Regions from separate parts of the Homo sapiens genome. Here regions 1 and 2 are each linked to region 3. The links are contacts of gene promoters, found by promoter capture Hi-C in human tissues and cell types (Jung and others, 2019). All regions are on one chromosome and are shown on one strand. Each heading gives the region's core, a stretch centred on a gene start or on the middle of the fragment in contact. The rest is flanking DNA. Distances are from core to core; before and after follow the strand shown.

Evidence for each region. Contacts are between HindIII fragments. The study calls those that stand out against the background at their distance.
Region 1: a contact is called between a fragment that was not itself captured here and the fragment with the promoter of NECAB1 in region 3, in 3 of the 25 tissues and cell types used here (bladder, dorsolateral prefrontal cortex and hippocampus).
Region 2: a contact is called between a fragment that was not itself captured here and the fragment with the promoter of NECAB1 in region 3, in 2 of the 25 tissues and cell types used here (dorsolateral prefrontal cortex and hippocampus).

The regions. Positions count from the first base shown.
Region 1 is chr8:90,874,681-90,877,567 of GRCh38, reverse strand. The region is part of intron 4 of NECAB1 (N-terminal EF-hand calcium binding protein 1); the gene reads right to left. The region is part of intron 2 of LOC105375634 (a long non-coding RNA gene); the gene reads left to right. Among named protein-coding and RNA genes, the nearest start is that of NECAB1, 84 kb to the right of the region's middle. The HindIII fragment of the contact is 3,506 bases long and covers 1-2,887 here.
Region 2 is chr8:90,894,421-90,897,371 of GRCh38, reverse strand. The region is part of intron 5 of NECAB1 (N-terminal EF-hand calcium binding protein 1); the gene reads right to left. All of the region lies in intron 1 of LOC105375634 (a long non-coding RNA gene), which reads left to right. Among named protein-coding and RNA genes, the nearest start is that of C8orf88, 89 kb to the left of the region's middle. The HindIII fragment of the contact is 3,887 bases long and covers 1-2,951 here.
Region 3 is chr8:90,790,525-90,793,680 of GRCh38, reverse strand. NECAB1 (N-terminal EF-hand calcium binding protein 1) reads right to left here and starts at 1,906. Exons shown (of 13, transcript NM_022351.5): 1 at 1,696-1,906. The coding sequence starts at 1,794. It overlaps LOC105375633 (a long non-coding RNA gene), which reads left to right and starts at 1,513. Exons shown (of 4, transcript XR_928389.4): 1 at 1,513-2,243. The HindIII fragment of the contact is 16,269 bases long and covers 1-3,156 here.

The sequences.
Region 1 (2,887 bases), core at 88-2,587, 84 kb before region 3:
AGACCCCCAGGTGATTTGTAGGCTTATTTAAGTTTGAGAAACACTACTCTAGGGTACTTGTTAGACATGAAGATAACTGAGAAGGTCTCATCTAGTAAATCACAATCTTTGGGTTGAGGGCGAGGTTCCCTAGGAGATTATGATGCAGAGTAAATTCGAGACCACTATGGGCAATGGGAAGCCATGGAAAGGAGAGTGACATCCTCAAATTCTCCTATCAGAAAAGGAAGGGATGCACTAAGGATGATTTGGGAATGTTGGTGACACCATCAAGAGAGAAGGGAGGTATCAACTGCCAGGAGGGATTTCATCACACAACTAGGACTATGAGCCATGCCAAAGCTTTGAAGTGGAATGAGCGGTGGAGTCCAGAATTTCAGCAGATCTGCAAACTCCAAGATGTGGTAGGCAGGAGGGAAGGACAGTGACATATTTGGAAGTGGCTGAGCTTGGACTAAAGTTTTATTCCAAGTTTCTCATGTTTGTGACTGATGTTTCTCATTTGAATCACAATACCAGTGTGAGTAGGGCAAATGTATATTGTCCTTAAGTCATGGCATTAGAAAGAATGACTTGGAACAAATATTGATTCCTTAAAATGCTTTCCTTTGGTAACTAGAAGAACTTCCTGAAGAAAAGACCTATTTTGTTGAAACCTGTATGTGGGTTTCATGAACTTGAGCAAAACAGAGTCATATTGCACTTATGGAAATGTGTGAAAACCAATTCTCATCAGTTTAAATGAAGTATCATTGAAAAGTAGAGTCTGAATATTAGGTATGATGAAAAAGTAGAGCACAGTTTATAAGCAGATGTAGTAAGCCTGTTATCTGTCAGGAAGCAGGCTATATTCTCATGGATATCCAGTGTGCCATCTTCTCTACTAAAATGCTAACAAAAAATTAGTTTCTACCTGCCTTTCTGTACTTAATCAGTGGTGTTGCATTACCAAACTACAGTTTTGTTCTGTTTTTCTATCCTGCACCTTAGTCTTTCAAGTTGTTGAGTTTTCAGGTCAGCTTAATAATTCTGTCAGAAGCAAAGGACCCACAGCTGCCACAAAAGTCTCAGTGGAAACTGGTCTTACAAAGTATTCTCATGAGTTTAGATGACTCTCATCTAAACTTCTCAAGCAGTTAGACTTTCTCAAGTAGTAGACTAGGTAGAAAAGAAAGTAATTGAGATGAGAGAGAGTGTTAAAACCCGCATGTTCTGAATAGGGAGGTCAGTCAGATCTAGAAATGTGGGCTATTTTGAGGGGATGCAGATAAGCGACACGCAAACTCTCTTACATCTCAATCATCAGTGACATGTGCCACTGGAGGAGGACACAGCAGTCTGGAGGAGGGCATAGAGCCTTCTGATTTCCTAGCACTCAGACTTGCTGGCACAGGTCTCTGAGCACTGTCCAGGCTCTGCCAATCTCTGCAGCCTGGGTGCTTAGTGCACAGCTACCGAAAGGAACCTTGGGTATGAAGGGAATAAGCTTTTATTCTGGAGTTTCCCGTACGCTCAGTTATTTTATTTTACTTTACTTTATTTATTATTATTATTTTTTGAGACAGAGTCTTGCTCTGTCGCCCAGGCTGGAGTGCAGTGGCCTGATCTCAGCTCACTGCAAGCTCCGCCTCCCGGGTTCACGCCATTCTCCTGCCTCAGCCTCCAGAGTAGCTGGGACTACAGGCGCCTGCCACCACGCCCGGTAATTTTTTTTTTTTTTTTTGTATTTTTAGTAGAGATGGGGTTTCACCGTGGTCTTGATCTCCTGATCTCGTGATCCACCCGCCTCAGCCTCCCAAAGTGCTGGGATTACAGGCGTGAGCCACCGCGCCCGGCCCCCGTACCCTCAGTTTTTATCCATCTTATTTATAGACTTCATATAACTTTTAAAATAGTTTAATATTTTGTAGATAACACCCGACTAGATGAGAAATTACACTATTAAATATATTCAACCTTCCTCACAAAGCTTTCTTACAGAAAGGCTTTCAGATCAAGCACATTCATTGCAATTATTCTTCGCTCATCTGTAAATATTTCAACTACCTATTCTTTTTTTTTTTTTTTTTTTTTTTTTTTTGAGACGGAGTCTCGCTCTGTCGCCCAGGCCGGACTGCGGACTGCAGTGGCGCAATCTCGGCTCACTGCAAGCTCCGCTTCCCGGGTTCACACCATTCTCCTGTCTCAGCCTCCCGAGTAGCTGGGACTACAGGCGCCCGCCACCGCGCCCGGCTAATTTTTTGTATTTTTAGTAGAGACGGGGTTTCACCTTGTTAGCCAGGATGGTCTCGATCTCCTGACCTCATGATCCACCCGCCTCGGCCTCCCAAAGTGCTGGGATTACAGGCGTGAGCCACCGCGCCCGGCCTCAACTATCTATTCTTAACTACCAACTTCAAGATCTGCAAAACGGTTCAGTAAAAATGAGTAAGGTTATGAAAACAGTCATAAACAGGGTAGGGCCAGGAAAGGTAGTAATTATACTCCTGAAGCTTTAGATTATAGCTAATTATGGTAGAAATACAAAATCAAAGCTTTAATGCCAGAGTTCAAACACAATTGCCTAATTAAAACTGAGTTATGTATTGACTGATCGTGATAAGATACGGCAAAAAAAAAATGCATTTAGGAAGGCCTTCACAATTGTATGTGAAGAGTGGATAATTTTGGCACTTCTATAAACTGCTGGTGGGTGTGCACCTTAGAGAAGCCTTGATTGAGGAATTACATGTTTGGGAATCTACCATTCAGAATTCAGAATTACTTGAACGTGAGTGTGAGAATAATGTATATGAGAATATTTATTTCAATCCTGTTTTTCCCATGGAAGGTTGGATTCAAATTGAAAATCCATTAAAAGGAACTTGATTGAAAAAAATTAAGGTTC
Region 2 (2,951 bases), core at 435-2,934, 100 kb before region 3:
GGTAGTTTTGCAGCAAAATTCTTAATATTAAAATAGATTTTGCTACCAAATGGACTTTGGTGCTAAGTTTACCAAACAACAACAACAAAACCAAAACATTCCATTTTCAGAAGCTTTTGGATTTTGGAATCGCAGATAAGTGGTGGACCTATAGTAAATCTGTGCCCCTCAAAGGATCCTCTTAAGGATTGTGGGAACCGAAGAGGAAGAGTTGCCAATAATTTGGCTTGTAATTGAAGAAGAAAATTTTATTGCTGCTTTCTACCTGCTAAATTCTTTTTTTTAATTATTTTTTTTAAATTTTCTTTTTCTCAGCAAAGCAAGGTACTTCTATATAGAAGGAACAATGGAGTGCACACTTGGAGAAGGGAGGGCAAGGGGTTCTTATCCCTGACGCACGTCACCCCTGCTGCTGTGTCGTTCCCCTATTGGCTAGGGTTAGACCTCACAGGCTAAACTAATTCTAATTGGCTAATTTAAAGAGAATGAAGTGGTGAGTGCTTTGGCGGGAGTCAGGGCAGAGCAGGTAGCAGGTAATCAGAATGAGTTAGGGTGGAGCAGGTGATCCGAATGAGTTAGAGTGGAGTAGGTAATCGGAATGAGTCAGGGTGGAGTAGGTAATCAGGATGAGTCAGGGTGGAGTAGATAATCGAAAAAGATTGCTTTACGAGGAAGTTAAGTTTAAAAGTAGAAGGCAGAGAATTGAACATACTGACGTATTAGTTTGTTTGTTTTTTTTGTTTTTGTTTTTGTTTTTGTTTTTTTTTGAGACGGAGTCTCGCTCTGTCGCCCAGGCTGGAGTGCAGTGGCACGATCTCGGTTCACTGCAAGCTCCGCCTCCCGGGTTCCCGCCATTCTTCTGCCTCAGCCTCCTGAGTAGCTGGGACTACAGGCACCCGCCACCACGCCCGGCTAATTTTTTTGTATTTTTAGTAGAGACGGGGTTTCACCATGTTAGCCAGGATGGTCTCGATCTCCTGACCTTGTGATCCGCCTGCCTCGGCCTCCCAAAGTGCTGGGATTACAGGCGTGAACCACCTCGCCCGGCCGACATATTAATTCTTTGAAAAGAAATTTAGAACTCATACCTAACAACTCTTCCTCTTGTATTTCCTTACAGCTTTCTTTTCAAACTTTTTAAACATGTCTTAGCTTAGTTGTTTTGCTTGATTTTCCAAAAGAAGAAGCTTCTCTGGATAAGGTGGAGGATAGCTAAGGGAGGTTTTAGTAAGTGCCGTTTTTATGAACCTCTGCATCGACTTACGGATGCATGGTATGACACAGCACCCGACAAGAATAAGTATACCTATTACGGGTGTGAGGTAAATTCTTAAGACTCATCTGCAGAATGTCTCTTAGGCTGCATAAAATACAGACTTTGCACAAAACTTGGTCTAAAATGAGTAACTTGAAAAAATTATTCTCCTACTGACATCAGCTCGTTGAGCTTTAATTGTGCCTCTGATTTACATGAGAAAACATAAAAGGGAGTAGAAAGTTACAATTAAAGGAAGGAAAACAGTCCCTTTCAGCTACTGCCACAGATCTATTGTACAGAATACTTCTCTATGGAATACTTCCTCTATGGCCACAGGCCAGTTCCACTCAGCACTCCTCTCTTTGAAGAGGCCACAAATCTGACTAATTTTCATTTAACTTCATGGGGCAAGGAAGGGGGCTTCACAGAATTTCCTAATCTGTTTCTCTTTATCAAATACATAATCACTTTTTCTATCTGCTGAAAAATAAACCTGCAACAAAATGATCAAGACAGTAGAAAATGCTGTTATTATATTATTTGATTGGAGAGCAAAGGCTAATTTTTGTTTCCTATTATATTCCTTTTGATTACTAGCACATGGCAACACTCTGAACACAGTAGGTGCTTTTTGTGTCTATTAAACTGGATTTGAGGTGGCACCTGCTCTGTACATACATGCCTTTGGTTTGTTTCTTTTTTGCTTTTCAAAAGATTCCTATGCTTCCTCAGTGTTGAGACTACTTTTTCTGTTTTCTTTCTCTGGGATTCAGAGACACTGAGTTCTGCTCCTGGAGTTATTTATAGTTTTGGTAGCTAGGTCTCACATACCTCCTTTGTGCTTCCAAGAGTGTTGTAGGAGTATATGTTCTGTCACTGCAGATGATCTGTTTTCATCATATTAACAAGGAGATGGCTGACTAGGTGCTGTGCTTCCCTTTTAGTTGTTCCTTTATATTTTTATGAATTAATTTCTGTTTACTTTTGATAATTTTCTTAACAGACATTTGTGCCTCTATGCAATCATATGTGTCTGTTCCCATAAGCAGCAGCTTAGTCAATCACTCAGGGAAATACATGCATCTCTATGCATTCACCAGACTGAAGTTCTCCCAGAAACAAGCCCCTGTGCTTCATTAAACTATTGATTTGGTTGTCATAGATCAGCTGAAATGTATATCCTTAAAATGAAGGGAAGTCTCATGAAGCACTTACACTTATTATCTGTTTATCTAAAAAAATCAGCATGTAAAATTCTGACTTAAGGTTAAAATTTTCTCTGAAGGGTCAACATTCCAAATTTTTACTTAGATTATTAGTTAGCTGCTCTGTTGAATTCTCCCCTCTACCTTATAGAAATAAAATATTTTGGTTGTTGTTGTAAGAAAGAATCCATCATATCCATATAAAGCACCAAGCCACATGTTTAGCAATTGTTTCCAATAACAAAGTATGAAACTTGAGAATGACCTTGGAAGTAGAAAGATAACTAGTCCCATGACTATTATGCCTATATTGTGCCTATTATGGGCCACTTGCAGTACTAGACCCCCTACATGCATTATATCATTTTATCCTCCCAACATCTGACAATGAAAGAAATGAAGGCAAAAAGATTAACTTGGGCATATGCTAGCAAGTAGCAGAGCTAGGAATCATATCAAGTTTTTCCTAAGTATGAAATTGTTATTTC
Region 3 (3,156 bases), core at 657-3,156:
GAATCAACTCCATGGCCCCTTAATTGTCAGCCTCATAACTGACATGATTTCCAGGGGCCCTGACTTTTCAGGCATGTTGTGGTGCCCTTCTCTTTTCTCAGCTTACCTCCTCAAGTGCTTTATGGCCCTGAACAGCAAAACTTGAATAAGATCAGCCCGTTAAGCCATGAGCACCAATAATACCATCTGACTGACCCAAGCCAGGCAGAGATAAATGCTCATGAAGGATAAGGTACTTAACCACCTGATTGGGTGGCTGAATAGGAATGACCACACCTGAGATTTGGTGGGAAGGAGATGACCAGCCCAGAATGCCTGGATCACCAATTGGAGCCACCAGGTGATAAAGGGTGAAGGCTGCCAGTACACACAGTTGAACCTCACTTCTATCATTTGCCTTACAACAGTTTGAATTATTGATAGGAGTTTCTTTCCCTAGAATTAAAAAGAATTCTAGCCAATCCATTCAAAATAAACTTGGGAGAGCGCCTCACATCCTCCTATCCTCTTTATCTCTGCCTCACCATTATGATACTAATTGATTTCCTCATATTTTCATCTCTCCACAAACAAATGTATCTGGCTTCTGGCCCATCTCCCACTCATTTTGACTTTAATAAGAAAAGATAACTCAGAGAAGGGTAAAGGACAGAGCACGTAGCACTCCTCCATGTCCTTTGACATTTTCTATCATGCCTAAACAAGAAGCAGACAGAATTGTCCCCACTGAGATAGACACGACCTCCGGCAACAGCATGAATGTGACAACTGAGGGGCTGGGAGAGCCTGGAGCCCGGCAAGCAGCTGAGAGAAACCCCAAAGCAGAGAGAAGAGATAGGCAACAGACGGAAAAATAGAGAAAACAGAAACAGCAGGCAGGAGAGGAAAACAAAATTGAGAAATAAATAAGAAATAAAAGTGCTGTAAAGATAGAAACCACACCATACGGGAAAAAGAAACAGCACAGAAGGAAAAGAAAGGATGTAATCAGATCAGAGTAATGAAGGCAGGCAGTCGATACCGAAGTGAGAAATTGGACCAAAGGGAAAATAGTCAAAAGCTAGAATTCATGGAGGTGACAGTAGTAATTAGAACTTGGAGAGAAGGAGAATATCAGGGAAGAAAAAGGGAAAATAGAAGAGGTGGCAGTGACAAAAAGAATCATTATGAAAATGATATTTCCCACCGCTGTAAAAAGAAAAACAAATATGCTCAAAGTAATTGTTTTCCGAGGGGGTCTGGGGGAGGATAACGAGGGCATCTCAATCGCTGCTGCTTCCCTGGCTGGGTTGCTTGAGAGCATCCACGAGTGTGAAGGCTGCGAATAGGGCGCGTTAGAGAGATGAGTTGGGACACTGTCCCCACCTCACCCCCCACACCTTGTGCCTCTTTAAAATGTCCTATGCACTCAAATGTTGTCTGTTGTATTTGCAATAGTGTCTCTACGAAACCCAGCCTGTTGGAAAATCTAACTTTTGCAGTTTTCTTAAGGGTGTTAAGCCACAAGCTGCAGGTCTGGGACAGCCCTAGCTGCAAGTTAAGGGACAGTCGTTCCTCCTGCATTTGCATCGGTAGTTCTCGCCTGTGTTCTGGGGACAAAGCATTGGCTGGTCAGCACCTGAGCCGAACCCCTTCCTTTCGGGGAAAAGAAAGGTGCTGGGAAGCAACCGCCCAGCTCCCACCATCTGTACTTACGTCGAGGAAGATCGACATGCCCTTGGACAGGTGCAGAGCAGAGCTGAGCTCCTCCGAGGAGTTGTTGGAGGACGGCGATGTCTCCTGGGAATCTTCCATCCTCGGGAGCCCTGACGGCCTCAGGCGGAGCGGGGCTAGGCGGACGCACCGGCTCTGGCAAGGGCGCGGCCGCAGCTGCTGCTTCGCCGCCGCCGGGCTCTGGATCCGGGAGGGTGTTCGCTCCCGCGCGCGCCTCCCTCCGCGCTCTCCGCGCTCTCCGCGCTCGGTGTCCCCCCCTCCCTCCTCCGGCCTCTGCGCTCCCACGCGCTCCAACTCTCGCCTCCTCCTTCCCGTAGTTGACGGCGTCTGGATCCATGTCATCCCCGCACGTAGCAACGCGCGGAGGGGAGCGGGCTCTGCCCCCGGCACGGCCATCGGCCACGGCTGGAGATAGCCTGGGGACCCCTACCAGCCCCACGACGGCCCCAAGTGCAGGGATGGAGGAGGGCGTCCGGACAGAGAGAAGGGACGAATGGCAGGGCGTTTGTCCTGAGCAGCCAAAGCGCAAGGTAAGGACGCCCCCAGCCTCACCTGAGTGGATGCCATAAATAGGGAGGAACTCAGAGAGGTTCTACCTACTCTGCTTTTGGTCCCAGTGGCCTGTCTGCCCGACCTTCCCCAAAGGCGGGGGCAGGGTTCACGAATACCAGCAATCGAGGAGCAGCTGGTTTGGTGTAGGGATTAAGCCATTCGGTGTTATCTTGCGCTCGAAGGACTTAACCTGTAAGCCTCACTTTTCCTCATCAGTAAAATGGTTACACCGGTCTCACCCCAGAGGGTTCTGAGGCTTACCTATGGCAGTGCTGCTGACAAAGGCGGTGCTATGAACTCTGCCTAGAGTAGGCTTCGAAACGTTTGCTATGGGGCAAGGATTGTTAGGTAATGTTCAAATATGAAGTTTCCCAAAGTCACAAGACGAAGTCCTTATCTGTGTTTAAGCATTTAAACCAGGGTAATTATTCAATATTTGACGGCTTCTGCGAAGGCTGTAAAAATAGGAAACTGACCACACCTTTCATCAGGAGAGAGATCCAGTTTATTGGGCATCTAAAATGTGTATGTGTTGGTTACAAACTTGAGCTATCTGGGAGCGAGATAAGGCAAAAAAGAGGGAACCTTGTCTAAACAAGACTCTGCCTCTACCAGTGAGAACGGGTGAGGAGGATCCAGATCTCCATTTTGTGGCCTTTGGAGAAAAGTAAACATATTCTTCCTATAAGACAGGCCCACACACAACCAAAATGCTGATCAACATGTGAGTGTCTTAAAGGCATGTAAAACATGCTAGGGGTTTCTCAGGAGAGACAGGTTACACTCTGGCTGGGGGGACCAATAAAAGCTTGATGAAAGAAGCGGTATATGAAATGGACCTTAAAAATCAGTGGATACTCCATGCTTGATAGAAATAGAAGGAAAACACTT